Linked DNA regions of Homo sapiens: all the other regions are linked to region 3. Evidence: promoter capture Hi-C in 16 types of primary human blood cells and fetal thymus (Javierre and others, 2016). All regions are on one chromosome and are shown on one strand. The core of a region is centred on a gene start or on the middle of the fragment in contact, and the rest is flanking DNA. Distances in the headings are between cores, read along the strand shown. Region 1 has its middle 10 kb from the start of CCDC85C. Region 2 overlaps CCNK (cyclin K). Region 3 holds the start of PAPOLA (poly(A) polymerase alpha). Region 4 overlaps CYP46A1 (cytochrome P450 family 46 subfamily A member 1).

What was found. Contacts are between HindIII fragments. The CHiCAGO score rates a contact against its expected background, and 5 or more counts as called.
Region 1: a contact is called between a fragment that was not itself captured here and the fragment with the promoter of PAPOLA in region 3, in 1 of 17 cell types (non-activated CD4 T cells). The highest score is 5.6, in non-activated CD4 T cells.
Region 2: a fragment that was not itself captured here is called in contact with the fragment with the promoter of PAPOLA in region 3 in 5 of 17 cell types (total CD4 T cells, naive CD8 T cells, non-activated CD4 T cells and 2 more); the score reaches 13.0 in total CD4 T cells.
Region 4: a fragment that was not itself captured here is called in contact with the fragment with the promoter of PAPOLA in region 3 in 3 of 17 cell types (non-activated CD4 T cells, fetal thymus and naive CD8 T cells); the score reaches 7.4 in non-activated CD4 T cells.

Annotation. Positions count from the first base shown.
Region 1 is chr14:99,613,178-99,616,125 of GRCh38, forward strand. It overlaps a transcript of HHIPL1 not described here. Among named protein-coding and RNA genes, the nearest start is that of CCDC85C, 10 kb to the left of the region's middle. The HindIII fragment of the contact is 4,207 bases long and covers 1-2,948 here.
Region 2 is chr14:99,503,719-99,506,796 of GRCh38, forward strand. The region is part of intron 9 of CCNK (cyclin K); the gene reads left to right. It overlaps CCDC85C (coiled-coil domain containing 85C), which reads right to left. Exons shown (of 6, transcript NM_001144995.2): 6 at 1-3,078. Among named protein-coding and RNA genes, the nearest start is that of CCNK, 24 kb to the left of the region's middle. The HindIII fragment of the contact is 162 bases long and covers 1,575-1,736 here.
Region 3 is chr14:96,500,872-96,503,646 of GRCh38, forward strand. It overlaps PAPOLA (poly(A) polymerase alpha), which reads left to right and starts at 1,511. Exons shown (of 22, transcript NM_032632.5): 1 at 1,511-1,729. The coding sequence starts at 1,722. It overlaps PAPOLA-DT (PAPOLA divergent transcript), which reads right to left and starts at 1,455. Exons shown (of 1, transcript NR_122121.1): 1 at 777-1,455. RefSeq lists enhancers at 216-812, 813-1,407, 1,325-1,584, 1,408-2,003 and silencers at 923-1,266, 1,705-1,824. The HindIII fragment of the contact is 10,690 bases long and covers 1-2,775 here.
Region 4 is chr14:99,685,466-99,688,206 of GRCh38, forward strand. The region is part of intron 1 of CYP46A1 (cytochrome P450 family 46 subfamily A member 1); the gene reads left to right. Among named protein-coding and RNA genes, the nearest start is that of CYP46A1, 2.5 kb to the left of the region's middle. The HindIII fragment of the contact is 3,529 bases long and covers 1-2,741 here.

The sequences.
Region 1 (2,948 bases), core at 412-2,911, 3.1 Mb after region 3:
TGGCCAGAGAGAAGTGGTGACTCAAGTAACTATAACAACGAGACCAGGAGGCCCACTGTTCCCCAGTGACAAACTTCTTTTTGTTTTTTAGTTTTTTTTTTTAATAAGCCTTATAATTTTATTTTTGAAACTCCATACATGTGGTTTTTTTTAATTAATTTTTTTTTAGACAGAGTCTCACTCTGTCACCCAGGCTGGAGTGCAGTGGTGCCATCTCGGCTCACCACAGCCTCGACCTCCTGGGCTCAAGCAATTCTCACACCTCGACCTCCTGAATATCTGAGACTACAGGTGCATACCCACATCCCGCTAGTTTTTATACTGTTTGTAGAGGCTGGTCTGGAACTCCTGGGCTCAAGTGATCTGCCACCTCAGCCTACCCAAGTGCTGGAATTATAGGTGTGAGCCACGTTGCCAGGCCTGAATGTGTTTTTAAATTTAAAGTTCCAGGCCGGGCACAGTGGCTCATGCCTGTAATCCCAGCACTTTGGGAGGCCGAGGTGGGCAGATCACTTGAGGTGAGGAGTTCGAGACCAGCCTGGCCAACATGGTAAAATCCCATCTCTACTAAAAATACAAAAAAATTAGCCGGGCGCAGTGGTGCACACCTGTAATCCCAGCTACTCAGGATGCTGAGGCAGGAGAATCACTTGAACCCAGGAGTGGGAGGTTGCAGTGAGCCGAGATCATGCCGTTGCACTACAGCCTGGGCGACAGAGTGAGATTCCATCTCAAAAATAAATAAATAAAATAAAAATAAAATTCCTAGCATAGAGCCTGGGAACTCAGTAAATGTTTGTTGAATGAATGAATGATAAAGAAGGAAGCTGAGTTAAGTTGAAAAACCCTGGATGTAAAATCTGTGTCTCTGGCCTGACCCTTACCAGCAAGGTGGCCTTAGGCAAAGCTGCACTCCCTCTCTGAGCCTCTGGATCAGGACCGGAAAATAGGACCATTTCATCCTCCTTGTAGGATGAGGAGATAGTCAAGTGACAAGAAAAGGAGGCGTGAACCCCAGGCCACACGGTGAGGCGGGAGGGGATGCTCTCCTCGAGAAAGGGCTGAGTCCTGTGGGTGCCCCGGAGCCCAGAGTCTTCCTGAGCGTCTGAAAACTGAACTGAAGAGCCAAGCCTTCTCTCAAGAGTAGCTCGCCCAGCTCAGCCCCAACACCAGGCCACAGAACTCTGCAATGAGGAAGCTCCATCTCAGCACCCTGAACTCACAGAGCCCCTGTGAGCAAATCAGAGCCCAAGAGGCAGCTAGCTGGTCAGGCTCTCGGAGCAAGGGCAGCAGGTCAGCCCTTGGGCTCTCAGCCCCAGCCACCCTTAGAATCACCGGAAAGCATGTGAAATGCAGATGCTCAGGTCCCACCCCAGACCAAGTCCATCAGAATCTTGGGAGACAGTGATTTAGCAGCCAGATCTGCTCTGAGCTACATGAGGCACTTGTTTGTTGGCATCAGGCTGAGCTAGGAGACACTCCCATTGCTGTGGGGTACACCCCTCCCCAAGCATCTGACCTTAGAGATCTTTCTCTAACGTTATCCAGATTCCCCAAATAATCCTCAAATGTGCTACTTCGAATGCATACACCTAGTGACGCTGGAGGGGACGAGGGTTTCCGGAGGCCAGGATAGCGTTCACTTAATGCCCTGATTTTTTTGTCCCGTATCTAATGGGATAAAATGAAAGGAAAGAAAGTAATAAAGATATAAAATCAAAAAATTATCTGGGACTCATGGACACAAGTCTCTCCATAAAAAGGGCCAGAAGAGAAGTGGAAAATAGACCATACTGGGCACATTATTGTAAAACTTCACAACACCAGGGTTGAGAAAATCCTCAAACCATGGTGCGTAGAGTGCGGAGAAAAGGAATCAGAATGATGTTGACATTCTCAACAGCAAGTCCAAAAACTAGAAGGTCATGAAGCGATGTCTCAGCATCCTGAAGGAAAACTATTTTAGTACCAATGCAGTCCAGGGGGAGGGCAGAGTGAGACATTTTCCAATTAAAAAAAAATAGAAAAATTATTTCCCAGACATCCTTTCTCTAAAATTAGGAATTAAACCAAGAAATAAGACATGAAGCCCAGGCACAGTGGCTCACGCCTGTAATCCCAGCACTTTAGGAGCCCAGCCTCCCAGATTGCTTGAGCCCAGGAGTTCAAGACCAGCCTGGGCAACATGAGGAAACCCTATCTCTACAAAAAATTCAAAAATATGGGCTTGGTGGTGCATGCCTGTGCTCCCAGCTACTCAGGAGGCTGAGGTGAGAGGGTTACTAGAGCCCGGGAGGTTGAAACTGCAATGAGCTGTGATTGTGCCACTGCACTCCAGCTTGGGTGGCAGAGTGAGACTCTGTGTCAGAAAGAAAAGAAAAGAAAGGAAGGCAGTTAAAAGAAAAGAAGAAAGAAAGAGAGAGAGAGGAAAGGAAGGAAGAAAGAAAGGAAGAAAGAGAAAGAAAGGAAGAGAGAGAGAGAAAGAAAGAAAAAGAAAGAAGGAAGGAAAGAAAGAAAGAGAAAGAAAGAAAGAAGGAAAGAAAGAGAAAGAAAGAAAGAAAAAAAGACATGAGATTCAGACAACAGAGAAAGGAAGGTCCAGGGTGAGGGCTTTGCAGACAGAAGCAATCAGCGCAGATTTGAAAAGGAGGCTCCCGGAGGAACTGCCCAAGCTCACGGATTCCCTTGGTAGGAGTGCTTGGCTGTTTGGAGAGGAATATTAGAGCTCTGTCGGAGTTTGGTGAAAAGCCCAGAAAAAACCAAGCAAGTCAAAACAAGGAGGCAATTATTAATCCCCAGGGAAACCCAGAAGTTGTACAAGGAAGGAAATCCAATCAGGCCATACCATGGCTCAGCTGGCCATAATGTTTATATAGAGTCACGTGCTGCTCCATCACATTTTAGTCGGGGTCACATACACCACGGTGGGCCTGTCAGATAATATTGTG
Region 2 (3,078 bases), core at 406-2,905, 3.0 Mb after region 3:
TTCTTTTCAGATCTAAATTGGCCTTAAATCTTAACTTTAGAGCTCATACAAAACTTTTCCATCAGCATTGTCTTTCTGTTCATCACCTGATCATAGATTCTAAAATTGTGCTCTTACGAAGCTATCAGTACAGAAAACATTACTGGCAATAAAAATGTACTCAGTAACATATATAAAAGTATAATTATGGCTGTAGGAGAACTGTTGCTGCAATTTTATTTTTAGAGACTATTTACCCCCATCACAGCAGCAGGAGTCCTCTCCCAAGCACCAAGCCACAGCAGATGCGGGGGGGCAGTAGGGGGTGGTGTGCTGCCCGGACAGCACCAGCCCGGCCCAGCCCAGCTGCCCTTGCAGGCAAGGCCTCTTTGAAACACACTTGGGTTGAGGTGCTGTCACATGTCTAGAACCCAAAGTTAGTTCATGTCAATATTGGAAATAAACAGAAGGAGTGAGCAAAATTGGAACAATTACAAAACAGAAAGTTAGAAATGTTTTGTCACAGGGTCAGTCCACCTATCATACTGAACTCTTTGAAGGCACAGACCCTATTGACTCATTTGTCTTTCTTTGTTACTTGGTTCTTAGTTCCAGTAGTTCCTGGTTCTTAGAACCATGTTCTCGGTTCTTAGTTCCATTCATTAAACTGCTGTGAAATCTTCCAGTTATGATAGAGCTACTTTTTTTTTTTTTCCAGTATATTTGAGGGAATGATGAGTTCAGTACAGGTGAATTTTTTTTTTTTTTTTGAGACAGAGTTTCACTCTTGTTGCCCAGGCTGGAGTGCAGCGGTGCAATCTTAACTCACCACAACCTCCGCCTCCTGGGTTCAAGCAATTCTCCTGCCTCAGCCTCCCGAGTAGCTGGGATTACAGGCATGCACCACCAGGCCTGGCTAATTTTGTATTTTTAGTAGAGACAGGGTTTCTCCATGTTGGTCAGGCAGGTGTCAAACTCCCGACCTCAGGTGATCTGCTCGCCCCAGCCTCCCAAAGTGCTGCGATTACAGGCATGAGCCACCGTGCCCAGCCTACAGGTGAATTTTTTAATTAGCTTCAAATTGACCGACATTAAATGTTAGACACAAGAACGGGCTACACTCCATGCCACATGAAATGCAATTGAGTTGACGTGCAGGTCTGTCAGAGGCAGGAAACAAACTATATATGACCTTGAAGGAAGAGTTGCATTTGAGCAGCGAGAGCAGAGGGGGAGGATGGAGCAATAAGTTGGAAGTACGCAAGTGAGCAAAGGAATTGAGAATCAGGGGAAATGGAGAGGAGTCTTTCTGGAATGTGATGAATTGAAAGGCAATAGCTTCTGATAGGATCTAAAATGTGGGTTAGGACCAGATCACAGAGTTTACCTGGAGGACTGTGAGTTTGGCAGAGGCAAGGGAAGCCATTGGAGATTTAGCAGGGGAATGGCAGAGTCTAAATTCATTTGAGAAGGAGTCCCCTGGCAGCAGTAAATAGGGCAAGTGGTTAGGAATGGGGAGAATCTTGCTGGCACTCATGGGAAACATGGTGGCCTCAGCATGCTGGCTGCGGGGCAGGAAGGGCAGATCCGGAGGAAGCTTTATAGAGGAACTCAGCTGCACTGTGCCATGCCGAAGGCTACTGGCTGCAGAGGGCTGCAAGCACTCGAAATGTGACTGGGTCAAATTCTGAAGCACTGACAATGCAAAATACACAGAGATTTCCAAGAAAGGAGAACGTAAGACATCTCATTAGTAAAGCTTTATATTGGTTACATGTTGAAATAAAATTTTCGATCTATCGGGTTAAATAAATTTTATCCTTTTTCCTTTTATTTCCAGAGTCTTGCTCTGTTAATGCAGGCTGGAGTGCTCCTTTTTCTTGTTAAAGTGGTTCCTGGCACACTTGTAATCCCAGCACTTTGGGAGGCCAAGGCATGCTTTGAGCCCAGGAGTTCCAGGCCAGACTGGGCCACATAGGGTGACCCCATCACTACACAAAACTTAAAAATCAGCTCGGCGTGGTGGCGCCACACCTATGGTCCCAGCTACTTGGGAGACTCAGGCAGCAAGATCACTTGAGCCTGGTTGGTTGAAGCTGCAGTGAGCCATGATTACATTACTACACTCCAGCCTGGGTGACAGAGCGAGACCCTGTCTCAAAAAATAAAATGGCTCCTGGAAAGTTTAAAATTGTAGATATGTGGCTCTCAGTTATATTGCTGTTGGACAGCCCTGATGTAGACGGCTTTAGCTAACTATTACCAGCTGTGGAAAAAGGCAGGAGGTGGGTCCCTGAGGTGAGAGTAATAGCAGTTATAGGATACAGAGGCAAAAGGTAGAGTGTGAGGTGCTGATTGGTGGGTCTAGGGATGGGCCATGGTTTTGGTGGCAAGATGGACGCTAGAAATGTAGGTTTGTAGTTGTCCACTTAGAGAGGGGCTTTGGACTCTGAGGAAGAGGGTGAAGAGAGAGGAAGTCCCTGGAACTTAAATTGAGCCTGTATTTGAGATGGAGGAAATCCAGAGAAAGAGGCCAGTGATGGCAGAGGAGACTCAGATCTGAGTGGTGTACAAGCCAGAAGAAAGTACATTTCAGGAAGAAAAAGCCTCAGCATGCAAACAGAAAAATAGGGTTCTTTTTCAGTTGTGATGTGCACGCTGCCTTCTTAAACGGATGAGATTGGACTTCCCTTGGGCTGCCTTGGAGACCTAGTGCTGTCATTGTGGATTCTGGCTGCGTGCCGCTGCCTGACCCCGGAAGGGTGGGCTGTTTCCTCCACCTCAAGGGGTCCTGACTGCTGGGCTTTTGTGAGCGGCACATTCTTCCTGCCATCAGTGTGTCAACCTCCAGAGCTCTGCTGACTCCAGTTAATGTGCTGCTTCTGACATGCTGCCAACTGGAAGTCAGTATTTGGGAAAGAGAGAATAAACTATGTCTAAGAATGAAAAGATAGAGATTCTCTTGTGGAACCCTCAGGGGACTCAGTGACATGATGTTGCTACTCTGGACCCTTCTTTGTGTCCTCTGTACCAGGGAGGACTCCAGATAGGTCATACATGCTCATGAAGACGTTGCTCTGCTGGTCTCACATGGTCGGA
Region 3 (2,775 bases), core at 261-2,760:
CTATATTGCCCAGGCTGGTCTCTAACTCCTGCCCAAGCGATCCTCCCACCTCAGCCTCCTAAAGTGCTGGATCACAGGTGTGAGACACCGTGCCCGGCTTACATTTTCTTTACTGCAATATATCCAAAATATTTCAACGTGCAATCAATATAAAAAGTGATCAGTGAGGTATTTCACATTCGTCGAACTGACACCCGTGCGTATTTTGCACTTCCAGTGCCTCCTAAACGAACTAGCCTCATTTCAAGTGCTCAGTGGCCCTAAGTGGCCAAGGGGCTACACTAATGGACAGGGCAGGTCTAGGTCCTGTGTTTTTCCCATTCGGAGTCACCAGTCCTACTAGACATTCTGTGAAAAAAGGGAAAGCCTTTGTGAAACTTCCTGAGGACTCACAAATGCACATTATTACATTTAGAGTTTAGAACTTTGGTTAAGGCAGCGTCCTGTATTTGATTCTTTCCCTCTTCCTCTCCGCTAACCCCCTATGTGACACCGTAGAACTTATAATTCGTTCTAATTCGCAGATGGAGGGCATATGAGAGAGGAGGCTCTGCCTCAAACACTTTCTCAAACTTTTGCCGAGGGGTGGCGAGAAGGTAGACTTCCAGGTCCCACCCGATATAGATTAAGGGCTGGAAACACAGTCAAGGGGAAATTATGACCAAGACAACCTTTGCTAAAATGCCAGCGGTGACTGCCATTGATGTTCCTATAAAAGGTCAGCTCTGTCAGGAAGTTCCAGTGCATCATTTGTTCAAAAGTAAAATCAGCCCGTGTTCCAGAATTCGCGGACTGTCGTCAGTCCTAACCTACACATTTATTCGTTCAACAAATATTTCAGCGCCTGGGTCAGGCATCAGGAATACACTGGTGGTTAAAACAGACGGAAAGCTCCATCTGGTGGGACGCAGTCTGGGAGGGAAAGGGAGTCCTGGGGACATGTTTTCGTCGGCTCTAGGCTAAGCACCTCTCGCCGTAGCACACGGGGTCGGCACCGCTGCCCGGCGAAGTACTTGTTACTTTGCAGTCCAGTACGAAGCGGCGGAGTAACCGGTTCCAACCCAAGGCAGCGACTCATGCGAGTCGTTCTAAGCGCCGCGCTGGGGGGTACATACGGTGCACGCGTGGGTGCCTCACCCCCTGGCAGCGCCTCCAGGGACGCTGCTCCGGGAAAGAGCAGCCGCCGCGACCTCAGGCGGCGGGAAAGGTGGGACCTCACAATGCGCCGGAAGCGGTGCCTCGTGGCTTGGGATCTCTCCGGGTTCTTCCTTGCGCCGTCCACGCCGCACTGCCCACGAGGGCGTCCCCGCCCGAGGGACAACTCACCGCCCGGGGCCTCCCTGAGCGTTCCCTTCCACCATCTGACACCCACTGCTAAGTGTGAGAGGACCCAGGGGGTAATTGCCGGGCCGCAGGCGGCCTTAGGAACTCCGCTTCCCGTGAGGCTTCGCGGCGGACGGCGCTGGTGCGCAGGCGCACGCACGGCGTGCGTGGTGGCGTCAGCAGTTCTAGAACGTTGCTGTGGTAGCGCTCGGGCGCCATGTTAGGACGAAGGGGAAGGAGGAGAAGCGCTTAAAGCGGCGGGAGCGGTGCGGGAGAGGGGTTGGACCCAGGGCTGAGGCAGGCCCCCCCCTCCCTCCCGCCTCAGTGGATCATGCCCAGGGCGGCAGCGGCGGCGGTTGCGGGGGGGAAGTGACTGGGCGGTGCCGGCGCCGGAGACGATGCCGTTGTAAGTAATTTGTATTCTGTTTTCTTTCGCTCGCCGGCTGGGCCTTGGGGGGCGTCCGGGAAGGGGAAGAGGTAGGCGGAGAGGGTGGCACGCGAGCCCGACCCTCCCCGCTGGTAGGAGGCAGGCAGGACTGGGGACCTTCCTGTTTCCTCGCTCGCTCGCCGCCGCACTTCCCCCCGTGTGCTGGGTTCCCGCGTCCCCCGACCCTTCCTGGCTGGGTCAGCTGCCGTCGGGCCGGGGGCCTTCCCCTTCCGGAATTGCTGGCGGAACCTCTAACTCGCCCGGCCACTCCAGCTTCTCCGCCCCGTCCACAAAGAAAATCAAAACAACCCGAAAACAAAACATTGCCTGGTGGTGGGGAACCACGACCCTGCTGCACGCGGGATCAGCACTTGGGGTTCGGGCTCGCTCTCGGCGCCCCTCGGGCCCATTCGATGTTGCTTTTCTGTTCCTGGTCTGTCTCAGTTTGCTCACTCTCTTCCTCCCATTTCCAGATGCCTGTCTTGTGCGCCGGAGTTAGCCCCTTTCCACTGACCTTGTCTGAATGTAGGAGCACGAGTTAAAAGCCCAGCTTTGAGCGTTGAGTCCGCCTGCCTCCACCTCCGCCTCCCTAGCATTCACAGGCGGTCGGAGAAGGGGGCACTTCACAGGGTGCCCTCCTCCAAAACGACTTATGTATTGCTTTCCCTGTTTTGTTTTGATGGGGTAACCAGGTTTCATTCTGTTTCCTTCTTTCTCTATCTCTGGTGATACTTTTTTTTTCCTGGTTGTAAGGCTTGAAGCTAGTCTCTTTATGCTTTCTAATGCCACTGCGCCTTTTTCTTTTCTTGGTGGGTTTTTAAAAAGTTTTTTTCTCCCCTCCCCCTTTCTGATAATGAGATATAATTTGGCAGCTCATTGCCAGTAGATTACGGATTTTTTTTTTCCTGCAAATATACAGCATTGTAGAGGCCTAAATAGTGAGACTGCATTTCTTCCATTTTTGAATATTGAAGCGTAAGAGTGCCTCTTTGAGACCAGGGACCGAGTTTTCTTCATCTTAGTAG
Region 4 (2,741 bases), core at 168-2,667, 3.2 Mb after region 3:
GTTACCTTCTTTCCACCTGTTGACTGTCTGTTCACCTGTTGACTGTCTCCCCCTCTAGAATGTGAGCCCCGGGAGGACAGGGACACTCTGTGTTCGCTTGTGTATCCCCAGTGCCTGGCGTGTTGCAGATCTCAATAAATATTTGTTGAATGAATGAATAAACAATTGTATTAGACACACTTTTTAAAATCTCAGGACATGAATATTCTGGAAGGCACCCATCTCCAGCACAAGCCAGATGTACTGGCGTTAGAAGCCTGAATCTCTGCTTGATGGGTTCAGGAAAGATCTCTGTGGCTGGTGACATAGGGAGGCACCTGTTCTCCCTGCTGGCTCTCTGCCCTTCTGGTGCTCTCTCTCTCTCTCCTTGCTTAGCTCCTCTGCCTTCTACTTTACCTGGATGCTTCTTCCCCCAGCCTTCCAGGTTTGGCTTCAATGCTAACTCCTCAGGGAGGTTCCTCCTGCTCCCCCAAAAATATTATGTTCATTTTATAAACCCTGAAATCACTGTAATTTTCCTTTACAGCATAATGTTAATTGGGCAATTATTTGTGCAAGTTTTTCCTAAGTGTCTCTTTTCCATGGGCCCCCTGTCTGTCTCAGTCACTGCTGCATCTCCGACATGTAGCAGCACATTGTACATGCATAGTAGACACTCTATGAATAGCAATTCAAGGTTGAATGGTGGAAATCTCCCGTGAGTTCCGTGGTGGACACTATCACCCTCTCAAGTTTTCAGAGAAGCCATCAGCACTTAGAATTGAATGAGTTTGGTGCTTGTTCTGATAAGTTTCATCGTTACTTGGTCTTCTCATAAACTCAAATGACCTGTTCTGGTCTCTGTGTCTTGAGAAAGCAGAATTTAAATCATCTTAAAAAAAATTGAAATGTAACTTGCATTCCACAAAATGTATTCTTTAGTGTATGATTCAGTGGTTTTTGGTACATTCACAGCACTGTGCAGCCATCGCCACCGATTTCAGAACTGTTTTGTCACCCCAGAAAGAAACCCCGTACCCATTAGCCATCACTCCTCATTTTCTCCCACCCCTCACAGCCCTGGCAACCATGAATCTGCTTTCTGTCTCTGTGGATTTGCCTGTTCTGGACATTTCATATAAATGGAATCATACAATATGTGGCCTTTTGTGTCTGGCTTCTTTCACTTAGTATAATGTTTCAAAAGTTCATTCATGTAGTAGCATGTATCCTTATTGCTTTCCTTCTTATGGCTAAATTCTTCCCAAATCTTATACCACAGAGTCTACATGTGACCTGAGTGTGTGGGGTGCGGAGGGAGCAGTGGGAGGAAGATGAATATAATCATGATTGGGCTATTTATTCTAAGGAGGTGAACTGAACAATGCATATATAAAAAGATTTTGGATTAAAAATTGGTTAGTGGTCAAATATAAAACTGCACTAAATGAAAGTTCTGGAAACTCTTCTAGCAGAAACCCGATGCCTTGACATTAAAAGCCTGGATCTTTAAACTATGATTGGCGATACTGTGGTTGACGAGAGATCTGTGTGTTGAGTCTCCAGTAGTAGCATTTGCCCCCGGGTACCCCAGGGCTTTGCCAGCTGGCAGGCAAGGAACCCTCTCGCTGCAAGAGGCAACTCTTCATCTTCCTCATTCTACAGGAGGCCCTCCCTCAGTGCCCCTCCTCTGTGCTTTTCTTACCACATCCTACTGCACCGATCCGTGTAACAGCTGAAAACTCAGACCCCCACACTCAGATCCCACACAAACACCTGTAGCTTCTTTATTTCTCTGTCACTGTTCTAACTTCCCTCATCAGCCCCTACTCTCCTGGTAATGTGGGAGTGGATGTAAACTTGACAATGAAAGGTCTTTCTCTCCCAATTTTTATTTATTTGGGGATAAATTGACTCCTCCTGGACAGTTCTGGTTCCACTCCGATTTGCCCAGTTGCTGGGGTGGGGCTGTTCAGCAAGGAGCAGGGTGGCCAGCCATGGGGGAGCCCCACAGCTGGCTCTGGCGGGTGGTGCATCTGATGAGCTTTGGGTGCCCAGCTGAGCACTCGCCACCCTGCCCCTCTGGCATGAGCCACAATCATGGTCCCTCACCCTCACGCCTACCCCTAGTGGGTAGCCCGCTCCTCCACTACTGGAGCATTCCCTTCATCCCTCTGGGTGACTTCACTGTGGGCTCTCCAGATGGCCTCTCCTCGTTCACTGGCCAAGGTTTTCTCTGCCCACAGGAGAGCTTGGGTCCCCACTCAGCCAATCATGATGTTGCAGGAAACTGGATGTGCTGGAGAGGTGTGGGGTGGTGGGCGGTGGGGGATTGCCTCTCCTCTCTCCCAGGGCTGCTCTGCTGTGTCCAGTCTATCACCAGGGACATGCCAAGTGGGCTTCTGCCTGCCGGGGCGCTGAGCAACAAGTCCCCATGTCTGGCCATGGTGTTAGCCTTACCTGCTTGTTTTTAACACCTGGGTCTTCCTGTTCTGTTGTCGCCTCCCCAGCGCCCCCTGCAGGTGCCAGAAGGAATGGGTTTTTTTTCCCCTTTCTTGGTGGGCCATGAGGACCCCACCCCTCTCTGTGCCCTCTGTCTTCCTGAGATGGCACTCACCTTCCTTCCCATGTGGCAGGGAACCCCAGGGGTTAGGGTGGAAGCTCTGGGCTCAGACTCTGTCCTCACTTAAGTGACTCAAAACTGAGAACATTCCCCCAGAATGTGAGCTTTGGGAAGCGACAATGAGGACACTAGATTACTC